5 separate regions of the Homo sapiens genome follow, and regions 1, 2, 3 and 5 are each linked to region 4. Evidence: promoter capture Hi-C in 16 types of primary human blood cells and fetal thymus (Javierre and others, 2016). All regions are on one chromosome and are shown on one strand. The core of a region is centred on a gene start or on the middle of the fragment in contact, and the rest is flanking DNA. Distances in the headings are between cores, read along the strand shown. Region 1 holds the start of LOC124909396 (a long non-coding RNA gene). Region 2 overlaps SHQ1 (SHQ1, H/ACA ribonucleoprotein assembly factor). Region 3 overlaps LOC105377161 (a long non-coding RNA gene). Region 4 holds the start of PROK2 (prokineticin 2). Region 5 overlaps LOC105377161 (a long non-coding RNA gene).

Region 1 (3,743 bases), core at 294-2,793, 950 kb after region 4:
GCTGCCTAACATATCACCCCAAAACTTAGTGCTTTAAAACACCTACCATTTGTTTATCTCATAATTCTGTGGGCTGGGCTCAGTGGGGGCGGTTCTTCCGCTGGCCTCTGCTGTGATCATTCATGTGCCTACAGTTGGCTTCCAGCCATCCTAGCTCGAGGCTTGTTGGTCAAGAGGATGGGAAGGCTCATCTTGGCTCTATATGTCTATCATCATGTAGTGGCCCAGACTGGGACTGTTATATGGGCTTGGAGGAGCTCCAAGGGCTACTAAAGACAATACAAGTCCCACTGTGTCTACATAATGTTTGCAAACATGCTATTGGCCAAAGCAAGTCACTTGGAGTCCAGAGTCAGAGTGAGAGGGCACTGAAAGTTACATGGCAGGGGTTGTGGGTACCAAGGGGAGAAATCCAAGGTTCCAAAGTACCTGGTAAAGCCCATATATTGCTCAGAATGTGTTTGGATACAAGTAACTGAACTCTGCCCAATTCAGCTAAAGAGAGAGAGAGAGGAAGGAAGGAAGGAAGGAAGGAAGGAAGGAAGGAAGGAAGGCAGGCAGGCAGGCAGGCAGGCAGGCAGGCAGGCAGGCAGGCAGGCATTTTACTGGCTTGCATGACTGAAGGTCCAGGGTGGAAGGAGCTTTAGGGGTGGCTGGGTGCTGAGTCTCAAACAATGTCAAATGTGTCAATCTCTCTCTCTCTCTCTCTTCCTCCCTTCTTCCTTCCATGTCTGCTTTCTGGTATATGCAATTTCTTTTCCAGAAAGGTTTTCCTCACATAGATACAAAGATAATCATCCTCTGAATAATGGCTTCCTTCCAGCTTACCAACTCAGAAAAAGTATCATTTCTAGTAGCTCTGGCCAAAGCCCCAAGAGGACTTTGATTGACTAGGCTTGAGACACCTGCTTATTGCTGAACCAATCACTGTGGCCAGAAGAACAGGGTACTCTGATTGGCCAGACCTGAGCCATGGGACCACCCCTGTGGTGGGATTCGGGGTAGTATCAGCCTCATTCCTCTTGTCCCAGCTTTCTGCACAGCCTCCCCCAGGAGGGCATGGAAACCCCAGAAGCCATGGGCCAGGCATCCAAAATGCTACTGGATAGGTATTCACAAACCCCTTCTCTTAAACCAGGGATTGGCAACCTTTTTCTGTAAAGGTCCAGATGGTACAATATTCTAAGTTTTATGGACCAAGGGGCAGAATCAAGGCTATTAGGTAAGTACCTACATAACAAAAGAGAAAAGACATCTCCATAAATTCTTTTCAATCATTAAAAATTTTTTTAAAAAAATCCTCAGTTTGGGCTGGGCACGGTGGCACATGCCTGTAATCCTAGCACTTTGGGAGGCCGAGACAGATGGATCACTTGAGGTCAGGAGTTTGAAACCAGCCTGGCCAACATGGTGAAACCCCATCTATACTAAAATTACAAGAAAACTAGGCAGGAATGGTGGCAGGCACCTGTAATCCCAGCTACTTGGGAGGCTGAGGCAAGAGAATTGCTTGAACCCAGGAGGCAGAAGTTGTAGTGAGCCGAGATTGTGCCACTGCACTCCAGCCTGGGTGACAGAGTGAGACTCCGTTTCAAAAAAAAAAAAAAAAAGAAATTAAAAGATCCTCAGTTTGCAGGCTATACAAAAACAGGCAGTGGGATGGATATGGCCTCAGTGCCCTGGTTTGCTGACTCCTGCACTAATCTCTTTCCACTTTCCGAAGTGCAAAAAGCCACAGGGAAAGCAGAGTTTATACTGGGAAGGAAATCTAAGGGTACTGTAGGGTTAGGCCGGGGGTGGTGGCTCATGCCTGTAATCCTAGCACTTTGGGAGGCTGAGGTGGGTGGATTGCCTAAGCTCAGGAGTTCGAGACCAGCTGGCCTAACATAATGAAACCCCATCTCTACTAAAAATAAAAAAATAAAAATATTAGCCGGGTGTGCTGGGGTGCATCTGTAGTCCTAGCTACTCAGGAGACTGAGGCATGAGAATTGCTTGAACCCAGGAGGTAGAGGTTGCAGTGAGCTGAGATCGTGCCACTGTACTCCAGCCTGGGCGACAAAGCAAGATTCTGTCTCCCAAAAAAGAAAAAATAATAATTAATTAATTAAAAAGGTACTGTAGGGTTAAAACCACAGCCACGGAAGGGGAGAAGGAGAGGAGAGGCAGGAACCCTCTGAAGGCAGAGTCTGAAGGAGAACTGGGGAAATTTGGAAGGGGAAAGATGCATCTTTGGGGGCAGTGGCTAGGATAAGAGAGTAAGAGAATGAAAGAAAGAAAAAGAAGATTTTTACAATGCAGCTGTCCCTCAATATCTGCAAGCGATTGGTTCCAGGACCCCCAGGATACCAAAATTTGCCAATGCTCAAGTCCCTGATAAAAATTGGCATAGAAGTTGCATATAACCTATGTGCATCCTCCTATATACTTCCAGTCATCGCTAGATTACTTATAATACCTAATACAATGTAAGTGCTATGGAAATAGTTGTTACACGGTACTGTTTAGGGAATAATGACACGAAAAAAAGTCTGTGAATGTTCAGTATGGAATTATCCTTTTTATTTTTTCTGAGTGGTTTTCCACCCACAGCTGGCTGAATCCAGGAACGTGGAACCCATGGATATGGAGGGCCAGCTGTATTGGCTGTGCCTTACAAATGAAGTGCACCAGAGGCTACAATAAATATTCAATTGCTTTTCAATTACTATGGATAGTGAATTGAGTTCTCCCTTTTTCTTAATGTGACACAATGCTGATCTGGGCCCACAAGTGGATGTGTCTTTCCGTGGGTTGCCCCCCAATTCCCCAGCTCTGCTAACCCTCCCGTGTTCAGCCACCCTGAGCAATCTTGTTCCCTCACCCACCACATCTCTCCACCTGAGACATGAACACCCCACCCTAACGTCCCTCTGCTCATCCAACTCCTGTTCATCCTTTCTTTGGGAGATCTTCCATGGCTCCCTGGGTGACCCCTACTCACTGAGTCCTTAGTTCCCACTGCACCCTGTGCCCAACCTGGGAAAAGCCTGAGCTCTCTCGGGTTCCTCGCTTTAAAATGGGATCACTTGCCTGCCCCTGCTGAAAACGAGGCAAGGTAGAAGAAAGCCCTTTGCAATCTGTAAAGGGCTAGCTAGGCACCTGAGGGCTGTTATTGGCATTTGGTTCCAGGAAGGCCCTGTTTTTGATCGTCTTCTCTGTTCCATCCTCTCCAGGTGAAGCTTCAATGTGCCCCGAGAGCCAGGTATCCGCAGAAACAGAAATACTGTGTTATTGGCAGGAATTAGATAAGCTTGTGAATTTAGGGATCTGCTTCGCGCCAATTTCATCAGCTTGGGGATGGGGGTGGGATGGGAGTGGGCAATCTGACTCTTCTAGGACAGCCTCCTCGTATTCCAGGTTATTGTTTCCCCATCCCAGGAAATCCTGCGGGTGCCTTCCCCCAACGAAAGCCACTGATGTCGCCCCTCTCCTCCCAGCAGCTTCCAGACCGCGACCTTCTGTAGCTCTGCTCAGAACTTCACCTGGAACAGCTTCTTACAATTCTTAAACAGCCCCTCAGTCGACTGTGATTAAGCATACACTCCAGCCTCAGCAAGCTTGGCGTCTGCCCCTGCCGCTGGGAGACCCTCCTCCAGGCACCTGCCCTGGGCCCCGCCCCGCCCGGTCCGCGCGCACGCGCAGTGGCCCCACCCCGCCCCGCCCCGCGACGCCCGAGGACCCGACGGAGCTACACCCGCTAG
Region 2 (4,018 bases), core at 970-3,469, 970 kb after region 4:
ATGGTATTTTAATCTGGGTGCCTGCATGTACCTGAAATGCTATTTCTCAAAGTACTCAGCACAATAATGAGATTGTGCAGGGATTGCCCCCCACCCCCCACAACCCCTGCTGCCTCTTCACATGTGTAATCAGGCCACAGAAGCACCACTGCAGTGTCCAAGGGTGAGCGGGAGGCACAGTGCGGTGAGTGGGACAAGGGCAGTCACCATCGTTGATGGGTAGCTTTCTCTTAGCCCTGGGTTTCAGTGCCAGAACTTCCAGAGCGCTTAGAGAAAGGGAGGGGTTTAGGGTAAAGAGGAAAACCAAGGTGAGATCCACTAGAGTCAGTTAATGATTCACCAAAGCATTATAACCCCTGGCTAATCTTTTATCAGTCTGAGGCATTTTTAAAAGCATAGCTATGGAATATGACGGCTGCAACATAATTTGCATTTATACCCAAGACAGTTGTAGATAATGTCCACCATATATTTTGAAACCTTGACTACCAGTGGTAAAGGATTCAGTCTGAGCTGCTGCAAAGTTCAGTCAAAGAACTAGTACACCACTCTGTTTCTCCATGAAGGGGAGTTCTCTCTGGGTAGTGACACACAACTTAAGAAATAAAGAGTAATAAATTTGGGAAAGTGGATACTGCCTCTAACTCTAATACTAGAAATAAAAAATATAAAATAAAAGCTTTTACTTTACTGACTATATATCTCATTTTAATTGTCATGACAAATACTTCTCAACAATATACAAAGGATGATGCTCCACTAACATCACTGCACTTGCTCCATTAACCACCTTGTGAATCAGTGCCATTGTTATCCCTACATTACAGATGAGGGAACTAGAGCTTGCAGGGGTAGGAGAGCCGCTGAGGTTCACTCAGCCAACAAGGGGCGGTCACGACTGGAAACCCAAGCCTCAAAACTCCAGCCCTCTTCCCGTTCCACCAAAGGGCCTCCCATGAATATACAGGCTCTGCAAAGTGTTCTTCTCTTCTTTTTCTTCTTCTTTTTTTTTTTTTTGAGATGGATTTTCACTCTCGTTGCCCAGGCTGGAGTGCAACAGCACGATCTCGGCTCACCACAACCTTCACTTCCTGGGTTCAAGAGATTCTCCTGCCTCCGCCTCCCGAGTAGCTGGAATTACAGACATGAGCCACCATGCCCGACTAATTTTATATTTTTAGTAGAGACAGGGTTTTTCCATGTTGGTCAGGCTGGTCTTGAACTCCCGACCTCAGGTGATCTGCCCGCCTAGGCCTTCCAAAGTGCTGGGATTACAGGCATGAGCCACTGCACCTGGCCAAAGTGTCCTTTCTTAAGGCCACATTCTTTACTTCTTCCTAACTTGAGCTCCACTCAGCATCTTCCAACTGAGCAAGTTCTGACTTGCACAAAGCCCAGAATCCTCCAAAGGAACTGTGACTAATATATTTAGCTTAACAATGTTAAATGAAGTATACATATAAGCATCATCTATGGAGGTTTAGAAAACAAGGGTAAAATTTGAATCATTTTTGTGAATATTGCTGAATATATTAAACATGCCAATTCTCAAGTTGATATTATTTGGATCTTTGTTATTGTCTACTATACAGATATTGTGTCCTGTCTTTTATAACAGTAGAAATGTGGAATTCCAAAGCTCCTCCCCTAGAATCCTGGCTCTTCTCAGAAAGCATACCCCACACACAGGGGGACTGAAAGTAACAAGTGTAACAGGCAGAAAAGTGGTGAAGCTGAGTCCAGGGGCCCAAACAGGAACTCCTGCCTGTAACCAGCTGATGCGAACTTTTATCCTTCAGGAAAAAGTTTTTCACTTTCGGCATTATATTATGTTTAAAATTACCAGGTTATACAATAAGTTGATGGATGGATGGATGGATGGATAGATGGATAGATGGATGGATGGATGGATGGATGGATAGATGGATGGATGATAGATAGATAGACAGATAAATTGATTTTTGATCCTTTGCCAAGCTTCATTTCTATTTTATTATCCCACCTTTAATACCTCAAGCTGGCTAGCTTCCTAAATTAATACTAAAGTTCTGAAAGAAACTTTAATAAAAGAAACATTCTGAACTCTCTCCCATTCTTAAAGAATGCTAGGATAAAAACTGATTAAAATTTCAAAATAGCATTGGTGTAGAATGTGCCCCAGTAGTCTGAGGAATTAAAGTTGGGTTTGTTTTTATTCAATTACTTAGCACAGATAACCTAGCAATCACTGTTCACAAAAAGGGAAATTATTCCTGTAGGGAAAAAAAATTAAGCCATGAAAGAGTAGCTGTTTTGTTTTTTTCAACCACTAGTACAATTAGAGTTGGTTCTAATCTGCCACTCCTTGTCAATTACACAATCTACTTTTGTAACAGACTTACCTTTTCAGAAAGCAGCTCACTTAAGGTAGGTAGTAGTTTTTCTCTGTCGTACTCAAAACTGACTAGGCTAGTTCATGTCCAAAAGCTTGGTCAAATGGCATTATTAGATAACCACTCTTACAAACATCAGGTACTATTTATTTCTTTATTTAGAGACAGGTTCTCGCTTTATTGCCTGGGCTCTGGAGTGCAGTGGTGCAATCAGCGCTCCCTGTAGCTTTGACCTCCTGGGCAAAAGTGATCCTCCCACCTCAGCCTCCTGAGTAGCTGGGACTACAGGCACATGCCACCACACCCAGCTAATTTTTATATTTTTTGTAAAGACAGGTTCTCCCTATGTTGCCCAGGCTGGTCTCCAACTCCTGGGCTCAAGTGATCCTCCCACCTTGGCTTTCCCAGAGTTCTGTGATTACAGGCATGAGCGGCAGCCCTGGGCATGGTACATTTTGATACTCTCAACAAACACATAGGCTGAGTTACTAGTTATAGTATATGTTTTTTGTTTGTCTGGTTAGGTTTTTCTTGAGACAGACTCTCACTCTGCCTTCCAGTCTGGAGTGTGGAGTGCAGTGGAGCGATCTCAGCTCACTGCAACCTCCACCTCCCTGGTTCAAGTGATTCTCCTGCATCAGCCTCCCGAGTAGCTGGGATTACAGGCATGCGCCACCACGCCCGGCTAATTTTTGTTATTTTTAGTAGAGATGGGGTTTTGCCATGTTGGCCAGGCTGGTCTCAAACTCCTGACCTCACAGTGATCCACCCACCTTGGTCTCTCAAAGTGCTGGGGATTACAGGAGTAAGCCACCATGCCTGGCTAGTTACATGTTTTATATCTAAGTGAGGATCACCTACCTGTTAAGAATATATTTATTATAGAATGAAGAGACGCTGCATTTAAAAGAGACAATTGGATACCACTGCTGTCATATTTTAATAAAACCACACTCAAAATAGATTTTTCTTAGAAAGTTACTGGAAATGTAATCCTACAATGTAACTTAAAAAAGACCTTTCATTCTTTCTGCATATGTGAAATAATATCCTATTTGGAGAATTTCTCTTTAAAGACTGCAGACAAGTTATGCTACATGTAACTACCACGAAAGAGTAATTGCAACAGCAGAAAGTACTTGCCTTTACTATGGCTAAGCTGATACAAAATTTCCTCAATTATTTTACATTTGGTGACTGTAGGAGGGGGAAAGCCTCCGCAGCCTTATGAAGCAACCAAAACAAAATGCAAAAGGAGCCTGAAATGTAGGGGCAGGGGGAACTGGGTATAAATGGAAAGCATACATCCTGTTTTTTTGCTGTAGAGTTTTGTCTCAAACTATCAATCAACTTTTCACCACTTCCTGCAATAGCAGGTCTACTATAAATCTCAGAGTAACCGACTAGGTTTCATTTCCTCTGCCCAAACCTAGAAGCCTGCCAGGCATGACATACTGAGACTAGAGCCCACAATTGATCACAGAGGACAAGACTCCAGTGAGGCAATTCCAGACAGTTCAAACTGGATGCTTACTGGCTAACTCGGCCTTTTAATTTCATAGCATACAAAACACACAATCTCAGGTTCTATCTGGGACCAAACAGTAGATCAAATTTCTTCTCTTTCCTTTTTTTTTTTTTTTTTT
Region 3 (3,611 bases), core at 665-3,164, 880 kb after region 4:
CATTTCCTGGATCACCTTCCAAATCAACTGCTTATATTCAAATCCTGCCCTCGAGGAACCTAAGTCTCAGAGCCTGCCCTAGGGAACCTTAAGTCACCAGTCCCTTTGGTTTTCCACCAAATATTAGCATTTATCATCAGCTGTGCTGTTATTTTTTTTTCTTCTGGTAGAGAAATATTTATATTTCTCATTTAAATACAGCATGTTAGCTGTATTTAATATTTATTAAAAATGAATAGAAAACGAAAAGATAGACTCAAAGGACAATGTGCTTCAGGAAAAAAAAAATAGGTGAGAGTATATCTCTTTGTGCAAGTAAAGAATATTCCTGCATATTTAACATCCAAATACTGGTCTGCTGAGTGCGCTGATGTTATCGGCCTAACCCGTGGGCATCTGTGTTTGTGATTCCTGGTGTTCAGCTCTGAAAGCTCTTGTTAAAACTCAGAAGTCATTACCCCCTGATTTTGAATGAGGTTCTGAGATTAGCGAGATGGCCATCTGGCAGCACGCTGAGAGAAAAAGTGGGAAGACACATACGTTTCAGTTGGAGGGAGGAAGGACCAAAGGAAATCTTATCACTGGGGCCAGGCCAGGGAGCTCAAGGTGGCATCAGAGGAGGGGGCCTCAAGGGAGGTGAGAGCAGAAACCTGATCTTTCTGTGATCTTGTGAAAGTCCCTTCCCCCATAGTGTCTGCAGGGCTTTGGCGGGTACACACCCTCCATTAGAGCATAGCTCTCCTTCTATTGACACAATAGAAGGTGCGTCTATTGTGCGTCTTCTAGGTGCGTCTCTCCTGGCTATGCAAGAATACCTGGAGGGCAGAAGCTATACCTTATTCTACTTTTTACACCCAATGGCTGGCAGAGAGCTCGCCACATAGTAGATGCCCAATAAAGGTTTGTCTTGAATTTTTGCTGGCCAGTGTGACCCTAGAGTGAGCCAATCAGAATTACTATGTAAGCCAGGGGGCGCTGTGGTTCAGTGTTCATTTCTCAACTGGGGCGCTGAAAAGTTTTTTTTGGCTGTATGCTGCAGTGATTAATATTGCACTAGCTGGCACCATGTCACTTAGGAGACAGTGGCATGGGATCTTCGAAAAACTAGCTATCTCTTACCTGGTTTGCAATCAGCCCATATAAGAATGGGGGCTCTGGAATCAGCCTGCCTAGGTTCAAATCCCAATTTCCTTACTTACTAGCTGTGTGCCCTTGGACAAGTCATTTAACCTCTCTGTGCCGCCATTAAAAAAATGAGAATCTAATGAGCTAGTGCATGTAAAGTATTTTGCACCATACCTGCACAGAAAAAGTGCTTAAAGCATGTTAGCTTTTTTTTTTTTTTTTTCCTGAGACAGGGTCTCACTCTGTCGCCCAGACTGGAGTGCAGTGGTGCAATCTCGGCTCACTGCAACCTCCACCTCCAATCAAGCTATTCTCCTGCCTCAGCCTCCCGAGTAGCTGGGATTACAGGCACATGCCACTACCACCTGGCTAATTTTTGTATCTTTAGTAGAGACAGGGTTTCACCATGTTGGCCAGGCTGGTCTTGAACCCCTAATCTCAAATGATCCACCCGCCTCCTAGGCCTCCCAAAGTGCTGGGATTACAGATGTGAGCCACCGTGCTCAGCCAGCATGTTAGCTATTTTGGCTTTGGTTGGAAACAACAGGATCCTGATAAAAAGAAAGCCAGAGTAGAAAAGAATCTAGAAAGATATGCACCAAAATATTAATCAATTATATGACAGTGATCATTTTTTATTGTTTCTTTTCTGCTTATTTGTGATTGCTGATTTGGTTTTCTTTACAATAAAGTTATATGACCTCTATAAGCTTACTCTAAGAGTAATAAAGAAGAGAAGGAAAGCTGGACTGCAGTGGGTTTTCTGTGCCATTCCCCACTAGCACTGCAAGGAAATTGTAGAATCTAGGCTCCCCTGAAAACGCCACACAAACCAGCTTTGCCTGTGCCTTCTGGAATTCCCACACCAAGAAGCTTCCATTCTGTCTCTGATATGGTTTAGCTGTGTCCCCACCCAAATTCGTCTTGAATCTTAGCTCCCATAATCTCCACATGTCATGGGAGGGACATGGTGGGAGGTAACTGAATCATGGGGGTGGCTTTTTCCTCTGCTGTTCTCAAGATAGTGAATAAGTCTCATGAGATGTGATGGTTTTATAAAGGGCAGTTCCCCTGCACACGCTCTCTTGCCTGTCGCCATGTAAGATGTGCCTTTGCTCTTCCTTCACTTTCCACCATGATTGTGAGGACCCCCCAGCCATGTGGAACTGTGAGTCCATTAAACCTCTTTTTCTTTATAAATTACCCAGTCTCGGGTATTTCTTCATTGCAGCATGAAAATGGACTAATATAGCCTTCACATCAACAGAGAAAGGGAACTTGAACATAAGTTTTCTGTGTTCTTGGTGGCCTGTGGGGTCCCAAGGATTCACATTGCAAGGCCATTTGGCATCCACACTCCACACAAAGCAAGTTCATCAGTTCCGTCCAATACCTTCCTCATGGCCAGCCACAGGGTAGATTCAGGCTGCTCTTGGCCCCAACACCTCTCTCTTGGGGTTCACAGTATAGTAAGGAGCTGGCACAGGCACTTCTGTTAGCAGGTAGGAGGTATGCATTCATTCATTCATTTGGTGACTATTTAATGAGACTTTTATGTGCCAGCCCCTGAATGAGGAATGGGGCTATTGCGAGGCTCTAGTGGGCTAATGCTCAGCCATCAGCTACAGGATCACATGTGGGTGGGCTTCTGCTGCCCTTCAGGTCCATGCTCTGCCCTTCTCCACCCTGCTTTGTGCCCAGAAGTCTGACTGGCGAGCGCTATGTTAACGTGCCTTCTTGCCTCTGGCATCCTGTTGGTTGGACCAGTTGAACAGCCCTGGCAGGAAAGTGGAGGGAGGGAGAAGGTTGAGGCTGGGGTACTTATCCCCCTGGTACCTTCCCTGACTTCTGCTGGACCTGTCCCTCCACCAGAAGTCACTGATCGTCTCACAGCAGCCTTCCGTATGGGACCCATCCTCCCATTTCTAGTATCTGCTCCCTCCTGCTGTCCCCTCCTGGCCTAGAAACATGGCTACTGTGGGAGACTGCACCTTCCCTACTCTTCCCCCACACCAGGCTCCTTTGTAAATCAGCCCTCCTGGAAGTATCCTTATATGAGGGGGCATTGGTCTCAGTTGGGACACTCCCCAATGGTTACTATTTACCCCCATTCTACAGATGAGGAAACTGAGGCTCAAAAAGGTACCTCACCCAAGGACACTCGGGAGGAGAGGAGGCAGCACTGGAACCCAGGAGGGCTCGATCAGTGTGATGAGCAAATTGTTCAAGGCCTGGAGGGGTCCCTTTGGGATCTGGGACTTGATCCCTCCTCAGGTGCCTTTCCTGTCTTGGTGCTCCTCCTCTTGCTTGGAAGGGACTGTGGGAAGGATGAGGGTTTGCCAGGAGAGTATCAGGGAGCAATACTGGCTCTTATGAGGGGCTCACATATTACCTGGGCTTTTCTCACCATCAGAGTAAAACCAAGTTCACAGCCAAGCTTAGGCGCCTGCCCAGGGCCAAAAGTCACAAGGTTCATCTGTCTGCTT
Region 4 (4,204 bases), core at 447-2,946:
AGACAGCCAATGTGATAAAATTTTATTTTGTAACAAAAGCTTCAGTTCTTGGAAAATTTACAAAGAGTTGCATAGGTTTATATATTTTTAATTAGACAGCTGTTTCCTAATGCCCTTCATCCTTAACCCATTGCAAATCTATTCAGATAGTGTTGTCCTGTGAATGGAACAAAAAGATACTTATATTGCAAAGGGATCTTGGGCTCAGAGGATTAGGAGAAACTTTAAATGAGCCAGCAGGAGAAGAGGGAGAAAAAAATCCAATCATGTTTCAATTCTCATGTATTAGAAAGACCTGCAAAAAGTTTTTCTCAACCACATGGACTGGCAAAGCTATGCAAGTAATTTTTTGAAAAAATCTCTTTTCTAATAAATATCACAGAGCTTACAGTTAAATATCTGTTGGATATATACAAATGCTGTCATAGCAAAAGGACTTTCAAAATTCTATAAACCTAATAACTAATATAGAGAAAATAGAGCTTGATTTTTTCAAGACAAAGATACTTCCTTTAAAGTCAAATGATATTATCTATGTATCAACATTTCAAACATAGACGTTTTATTTAAATCCCATTATGTGCACTTAAATATTTGAAGTAATTTAATGAAGGTGTGAAATAATTCCTCACTTAAAAAACAGTAAAGAAGTTGAACAACCAGGAAATGATAGCAGTTTTGCCTTGTTAATGTAAACTAGACTATTTAGTATTGTACTGCAAACCCAATTTTTTCAGATCCACACAAAATTGTTGAGAGTGGGAGAGAACTGAACTAGTTCCTACTTACAGAAAAGATGAAAACATCGTCTCTAAGTTTAAACATCTACACAGCAACCTACTCCATCATTATGCTGGAGCACTGGAGGTGCTTTGCCAGGAATTAGAAATTTAAAACTTTTATGGGGATACCTCAAGACCCTGAGCGCGGGGGAAAGCCCCGGAACCCAGAAGGAAGCTCCCACAATTGCTTTTCAAAGCGCTCACATGGCCCTGGACCAAGCGATTTCAAAGGGTTTCTGCGGAGGACGCATCGGGGAGCAAACTCTTTGACTGTAGGATTAAGACTCTGGGCACTTGGGGAATTCGTCTTGGTCCTTTGCATTTCAGGAAGGGGCCGTCAAATTTTAAGGTTCGAGGTTGGAGAGCCTCCAAAAGTACTTGAGAAGACTCAGAGAGAAACTTCTTTCAGCCTAACAGAAGAAAAATGCGAGGAGTGAGGCCGTGGGTGATGAGGGAGAAGTAAGCGGGAGAAGGTGGTAATAAAGGTGGTGGGCGACATCCTTGTCACTGTTTCTTCCAGGACGCGCCCAGTGTCCCCAGCCGTCTGCTGCTTTTGGATCTGGGTATTTTCCCAAGTGCACCAAGGGGCGACAGGGGCAGGTGTCCCCGCCCAGGGCGACCCTCCCTTTGCCTCTAGCCTGCCCTTCAGGGTCCCCGTCCCAAGCCCCCTGGGCACATCCCAGGCGCGCATCAGGGGCAGACAGGTGCGCCCGGGCCGCTTACCCCGGTGATCACGGCGGCGTCCCCAGCGCGGGGCGTGAGCAGCAGCGGCGGCAGCAGCAAGAGGAGCAGGAGTGGGGCGCAGCACAGGCTCCTCATGGCGCCCTCGGGACTGGGCGGCCGCCGGAGGCAGTTGGGGGCGCGGGGCCCGGGTGCGCTGGGTGGAGCGCGGAGCGGCGGGCGGACGGGCGCGGCGGCTCCCGCGAGCCTCCGGGCCGTTATAAAGGCTAGCCCCGCCGTGACTCACGCCGGCGCCCGCCCGGCAGCACACGCGGGGGGCACGGCGCGGGCACACACCCCACGCCCCACGCGCACACGCGCGCCCGCCTCGGCCCGGCCGGCTCCCAGACGAGCACGTGCTATGCGCGGCCCCCCGCGCCCCCGCCTCGGGCGCCACGCAGGCAGCGCTCCCGGCGGGGCGCCCCGCTCTGCGCCGTTCCCTCCGCCGTCGCCCAGCCACCGCCTTTCGCACGCGCCGGAACCGCTTTTGTGGTCTCCGAGACACTCATTTGCTGTCCTGGTTTCCAAAGCTCCACGTGCTCAGCGCCGAAAACTTGCAAATCATTTGCTGTACAGATGTTTAGGGGTCGCCTACTACGTGCGGGGCGCTGTGGACACATAGGGGGCGGGGGGTGGGTGAGGGGGACACAGCAGCCCCTGAATCCATTCGTTTGTTCAGCAGGTCTATACTGGGCGCCCGCTGCGTGCCAGGTACTGCCACCGGCTCTCTCCTCACGGTGGAATAACTTAACAGAGAAGACAGACATCAATCAAATACCCTGGAAACGTGGAAGGCAGGGGAAAGAACAAAGGGAGAGCAAAATCGCCCCAATCCCACATCACCCGCGACGTGAAAGGATTTGTCCTTCCAGCTGCGGGACTCCTATTTGTTTATTTCAAGTCAGAGGCCTTCCCTTTATGCCCACATCTGTTCCCGACCCTCTCCTCTGATTTTCCTCACATGTATTTCCTCCCCTCTTCAGCCCCGCGCCAGCTCCAGGCACAGCCGTTCAGGGTGATGCCAAAGGGAAATGAGAACGCCTGGTTTCGAGTGCCAGCCTGAGGCCCCTTAAGCCCTAGGTACGCAGCTCTCTCTTCTTTCTTAAACTTTCCAGCCCAGGAAAATCACCCTTCGGTTTTACAGATGCGATAGGGCGTTATTGTGATTCCTTCATTCACGTAAACATGAATTGAGTGTCTAGTGGGTTCCAGGCACACCAGGAAAGAATAAGTGACAGATTTGCCCTCCATCTCTCATCCTAGCCTGGCTCCAAAAACTGCAGCCTGTTTCCCTCAACAAAAATGACGTCAAGAATACCTAGATGTGACCACACCGAACTTGCTTGCCCGTTTTGGGAAACCCAACTTTCTTCCTGAATAGTCAGAACCTCTGGCTTTCCTGGTCTCTTAAGAACCGCAAACTATTGAAAAGCAGATGCGTCTTTCAGCCTCTTTAATAAATGCAGTAAGGAGAGTTGGGACAGAGTTACTTTCAGACTGTGGGGCTCCCCCGTGCCAAAGCATTCAGACGAAATGTGGGGGATAGCGGGGGGAAGGCAGGCAATTATCTGAATGTTAAACAGCTGAATATTTGGAAACCCCAATCTTTGGCTGATTTTTAAAAACCTTTTTCACACGTGTTCTCATGTTTAAAAAACGCCTTGAACAGAAAACACAAAAGGAGTCAAACCCTTTTTTCAACTTAAAAAAATGTTAAAATTGGACTCACAGTGGAGTAAGTAGAAACAGTAGCAAGTGACAGACTTGTGGAAAGTTTCCTTTTCCAGTCTCCATGCCAACGCTAGCTCGGGAATGCTGCCGGGTAAATGTAAAAACCAGTCAACATGGATTTTAACATTCCTATGACTTTCTTTTAATGGTCTATTTCATATTCGCTACTATTGAATGCCAGCTTGGGTATTCCCTGCTTCTTCAAGCATAGAAAATATGATATGTCTACACAGGAAAAATCAGATTTCAAAAGTGGCTGGCTTCTTACACAGCTGTTTGGAAAACAGTCCTCATAAGGCTGTTTTGAAACAAGTTTAAAAAAAAGAAATAAGTTTGGAAACACTTAAAAATAGGGTTGTTTAGTTTCATGTTCTTTTGGAAATTTTAATTGCTTTAATGCTTTAGGAGAGAAATGAAGGCTCTTGATATGTCATCTTTGTATCTGAGGCCAAGTTTGAAAAATGAAGTCTGACTTCAATTGTTATAAAGGGAAAAATGAAAAAAAAAAAGAGTTTGGATTAGTCCATTAAAAAAGGTAGTTGGGACAACTTAGCAACAATGACATAGAAATGAAACAGTAGTTTATTGATTCTTTTCTATTACTGTAACCTGTTGATATTGCCACATGATCACTTCTGCCCAGGCATAACTGTATTAGGTGAAATGAGCCTTGTGTGTGTAAAGTGTAGCCTACCATATTCCAGCAGACCATCAAGGCTCAGCTTAAACGAAAATGCAATCTAGGAGCGTCTATAGAACCCAATGTTTGTGAGACAGGCTGATCAGGATTGGAATCCTGTGTGACCACTGGGCAAGTTACACAACCTTTTGAAGCCTCTGTTTCCGGTCTTGTAAAATGGTTATAAAATACCAACCTCATGGGGTACAACCCCTATGGAATTTAATAATACCTGCAAAATGCTTATCACAGTGCCTGGAACAGACTGGGAGCTCTGTTAGGGTTACCTCTT
Region 5 (3,668 bases), core at 824-3,323, 910 kb after region 4:
TAAAGCAAGGGGCTTTCAGTGCACTATCTCTCATCCTTTCCAAGCTGATATACCATGAGGCACAGCCTTTTCAGGCACTTTTTATTGCTGTAATGTGTCAGCCTGGGTAACAGAAAGCAGGCGAGGAAGGCTTCATTATAAAAAGGAATCTTCTCATGATACTTTAATTCTATCATTTTCTTTCCTGACAAGAACTCACACACGTACACAAAAATGTGAATTTAATTTTGGGCTCTCAAAATTACTGCAAACGTGATTACTTAATCCCCCTTGGTTCAATCTTAGAATGTTGACAATTTCCTGCTAAGATTCTGGAGGCAGCAACAGAAAGTTGACAGTGTGAGTTTTGGAGATAGCCTGTCTGCCTCAGCTCTCAGCCCTCAGCAGCCAGGGGAGGGGGGTGGGAGGAGTGGGTAACTTATGCCCTGTGCCTCGGTTTCCTCATACCTAAAACGGAGAGGGCAGCAGAACCTCCCTCCCAGTGCTGCTGTGAGAGTTAAATGAGGCAAACATGAAGCAAGCTTCACACAGTGCCTGGCATTTACATACTAAGTGTTCATGCCTATTAAACATTAGCTAATTGCACATCATGATTAAAGTAGCCAAAAGAGTTCAGATATCTAAAGTCACATATACCATGTGTATAAGGGCATGTCTCTGTGTAAAAATGACCAAGTATAAATGCCTGTCGATCTTTTTTTTAATTAAAAAATTAATTTTCAGGCTGGTGTTGCTGTAAATTTAAAAATAAAAATAAAAAATAAAAAAAGTATGTATTTATTTAGAGACAGGGTCTTGCTCTGTTGCCCAGGCTGGAGTGCAGTGGTGCAATCACAGCTTACTGCAGCCTCGAACTCCTGGGCTGAAATGATCTTTCCACTTCAGCCTTCGGAGCAGCTGGGACTACAGGTGCACACCACGATGCCCAGCTTGTCAATTATTCTTAAACCTTCTAATTATTACAAAACTAATTTGCTTATTGTGAAAAAATGTTTTAAACATAGAAAAGTAGGAGGAAAAACTAAACACCACCTATCATACAACTACCTTCAGATAAATATTTTTTAACATTTTGGCCCATATACTTCCAATTGTTTTTACTGTGCATAAATATATTTAATTTTTTTCAGTAAGTACTTGCTTTTTTAATAACTTTTTTCTATTCACTAATGACATAAATGTAGTCCCCTGTCATTAAACATTTCTAGGCAGCATCATTTTTAACGGCTGTGTGGTCTTCACCTGAAGCAGGTTAGGTAGTCAAGGAAGTAACCATGTCCTCAGGACACAGCAACAGTGGGGACCTACGGTCAACACAATAAGCCCCAGCATCCTCACTGTAGTCAAGCTCATTCAAGCAAAGCTCCCTCCAGTTGGGAATCTCCCCTGTAGGGAGCATGCGCATTTTGATTTTACCTGTCCTCAGCAAAAGTCTGACCCTTTGCTTGTTATAAGCATAAAAAACACACTTCAGGCGGAGAATTTTTTTTTTTTTTTTTTTTTTTGAGATGGAGTGTCGCTCTTTTGCCCAGGCTGGAGTGCAGTGGGGCAATCTCGGCTCACTGCAACCTCCACCTATCAGGGTCAAGCAATTCTCCCTAGGATAAATTCCTAGAAATAAAGGTCAAAAGTTCTCCACATTTTTAAGCTTATATATAGGTCCACGGCATCCTTCCAAAAGGGTACATCGCTCCCACCAGTGGTGAATCAATATTCTTTTCCAGCCCTGCACATTCCTTGCTCAATTCTTTCGATGATTTTTTATTGAGCACCTACTATTTCAAGCCACTGCTAGAGATGACTAGAATAAGCCTTTTTTCTCTCTATGTTCCATCTCCAAGGATCTCCTATACTCAACTCTGAGGCTATGGCTTCAATCCAGCCCCTTCATCTCCCTATTTTACTGTCAGGGAAATGGGACTGTCTGATAAGTGGAACAGGGTTGGAGACAGAGCTCCAGTCTCTGAGACTGCAAAGGGCCCACTCCTTCTGCCCTTCAGCCAGGAATGTGGCAGTCCGAACGCCCCCTTCCTTACTGCTCTTGTGTCCTCATTGCCTTGATCTGCTTTTCTGGTCCAAGTTTTCTTCCTAAATGTTTGGCAAGAGCTTATAACCCAAACAAGAGGAAGGTTTCAACTCAAACACCAACATGGTGGTTTAGTAGTGATAACCTGGATCACTGGATTGAGGAGGATTCTGAGGCTATTTCTGAGGCCAGCTGGAGGATTGCTGTGATTGACTGGTGATGCCTGCCACAGACATAGGCATGGAGACTAATGATAAGTATGCCTGTCAATTCTGTTATTTACTCCGCTTCCAGCTTCTGCTGTCCTTAGGACAGACCCTCCTAGATTCATGTGCCTTTCTCCTGTACTTCTTTCTTTTGCTCCTTCCTTCTTCATATTCACTCCACGCACTTTCTCTTTTTGTTTCTTTACCTCACACACGTTTGTCATCTCAGTAAATCTTGTTTTCTATAGATTGCACCCTCCTTGTATGAAGCTTGCCAGGAGTGCTCACTCATGCTCTCTGCCTCTCTGCTTCTGCAGTTCATCCATTAAGTTTATCCCCCTCTGTGTTGCCAAAAGCCGTTGGTGGTAAACAACATTCCATGGGCCAGCAATTCCTTCTTGACTGACCCACCACAGGAGGGCTGTTTCCCTCAGGAAGCCCCACTGTTTAGGCAAGAGGGACCTGGCTCCCTGAGAGTCACTAGGAAACCACCCCTACAGGAAACAAAGCACATCATTTATGGTGCCTTGTTCACGTTAGAGCATTCCCTATCTGTACTTCACAAGCTCCCAGAGACTAATAAAAAGTCTGTTTTAGAATTAACTCCATGCTGCCCTAGGCCTGTGGATTGCAACAGAAAAACTTAGCCTTATAGAATTAACAGTCTTTGGGCATAGCATTACATTTCCCATAAACAGTCTTCATGTACTAAGCACTAGCTATCATCAGACATTGTGCTAAGGGCTTGAATGCCTTATCTCATTGAATTTTCCCACTAATCTGAAAGGTGGTACTGTCATTATCCCCATTTTATAGCTGAGAAAACTGAGGGGCAGGGAGTCTAAGTAACTTGCCCAAAATCAGATTCTGCTAGGGAGTGGAGAAGCTTCCAACCATGCAGGCTGCGCAGTTACACATCATATGTTAGTCAATACCATGCCTGGCTCCTTGTGTAGGGGTCATGATGTCCCACCTACCCAACAAGGAACTTAGAAATAATGGAGATAGAGTTGCCATCTGGGAGATAAACCACAGTCAGTACACAATGGATCAGATCAGCAAATTGCAAAGTGGTTCTAAAGACATATCCTGGCTCCCAGGTCTGTGAGAATAAAGATATTAGTGCATTTACAGAAAAAAATTGTGTCCATCTAATGGAGACTTGATCATCAAAAAGGGAATTCAAAGGATGTCTACCCAAGCACCACCCAGGAGAGAGGAGAGTACATCAGAGTCTTCTCTGCCTAATTGGCATATCCTTGTTACACTGTTCATTTATTAAGCTATTATTATTATTGTTTTAGAGACAGAGTCTTACTCTGTTGGCCAGCACAGTGGTGCAATCATAGCTCACTACAGCTTGAACTCCTGGACACACACAATCCTCCTACCTCAGCCTCCCAAGTAGATGGGACTACAGGCACATGTTACCACAT

What was found. Contacts are between HindIII fragments. The CHiCAGO score rates a contact against its expected background, and 5 or more counts as called.
Region 1: a fragment that was not itself captured here is called in contact with the fragment with the promoter of PROK2 in region 4 in 1 of 17 cell types (naive B cells); the score reaches 5.6 in naive B cells.
Region 2: a fragment that was not itself captured here is called in contact with the fragment with the promoter of PROK2 in region 4 in 1 of 17 cell types (total B cells); the score reaches 5.0 in total B cells.
Region 3: a fragment that was not itself captured here is called in contact with the fragment with the promoter of PROK2 in region 4 in 1 of 17 cell types (naive B cells); the score reaches 6.0 in naive B cells.
Region 5: a fragment that was not itself captured here is called in contact with the fragment with the promoter of PROK2 in region 4 in 1 of 17 cell types (naive B cells); the score reaches 6.0 in naive B cells.

What each region holds. Positions count from the first base shown.
Region 1 is chr3:72,735,200-72,738,942 of GRCh38, forward strand. LOC124909396 (a long non-coding RNA gene) reads left to right here and starts at 3,707. Exons shown (of 2, transcript XR_007095963.1): 1 at 3,707-3,743. It also overlaps a transcript of SHQ1 not described here. The HindIII fragment of the contact is 3,351 bases long and covers 1-3,219 here.
Region 2 is chr3:72,753,382-72,757,399 of GRCh38, forward strand. The region is part of intron 10 of SHQ1 (SHQ1, H/ACA ribonucleoprotein assembly factor); the gene reads right to left. Among named protein-coding and RNA genes, the nearest start is that of SHQ1, 93 kb to the right of the region's middle. The HindIII fragment of the contact is 489 bases long and covers 1,976-2,464 here.
Region 3 is chr3:72,665,373-72,668,983 of GRCh38, forward strand. The region is part of intron 5 of LOC105377161 (a long non-coding RNA gene); the gene reads right to left. Among named protein-coding and RNA genes, the nearest start is that of SHQ1, 180 kb to the right of the region's middle. The HindIII fragment of the contact is 163 bases long and covers 1,834-1,996 here.
Region 4 is chr3:71,783,452-71,787,655 of GRCh38, forward strand. It overlaps PROK2 (prokineticin 2), which reads right to left and starts at 1,697. Exons shown (of 4, transcript NM_001126128.2): 1 at 1,506-1,697. The coding sequence starts at 1,601. LOC105377156 (a long non-coding RNA gene) reads left to right here and starts at 1,939. Exons shown (of 4, transcript NR_199161.1): 1 at 1,939-2,072; 2 at 2,185-2,296; 3 at 2,486-2,582; 4 at 2,766-2,976. The HindIII fragment of the contact is 4,477 bases long and covers 38-4,204 here.
Region 5 is chr3:72,695,680-72,699,347 of GRCh38, forward strand. All of the region lies in intron 2 of LOC105377161 (a long non-coding RNA gene), which reads right to left. Among named protein-coding and RNA genes, the nearest start is that of SHQ1, 150 kb to the right of the region's middle. The HindIII fragment of the contact is 854 bases long and covers 1,647-2,500 here.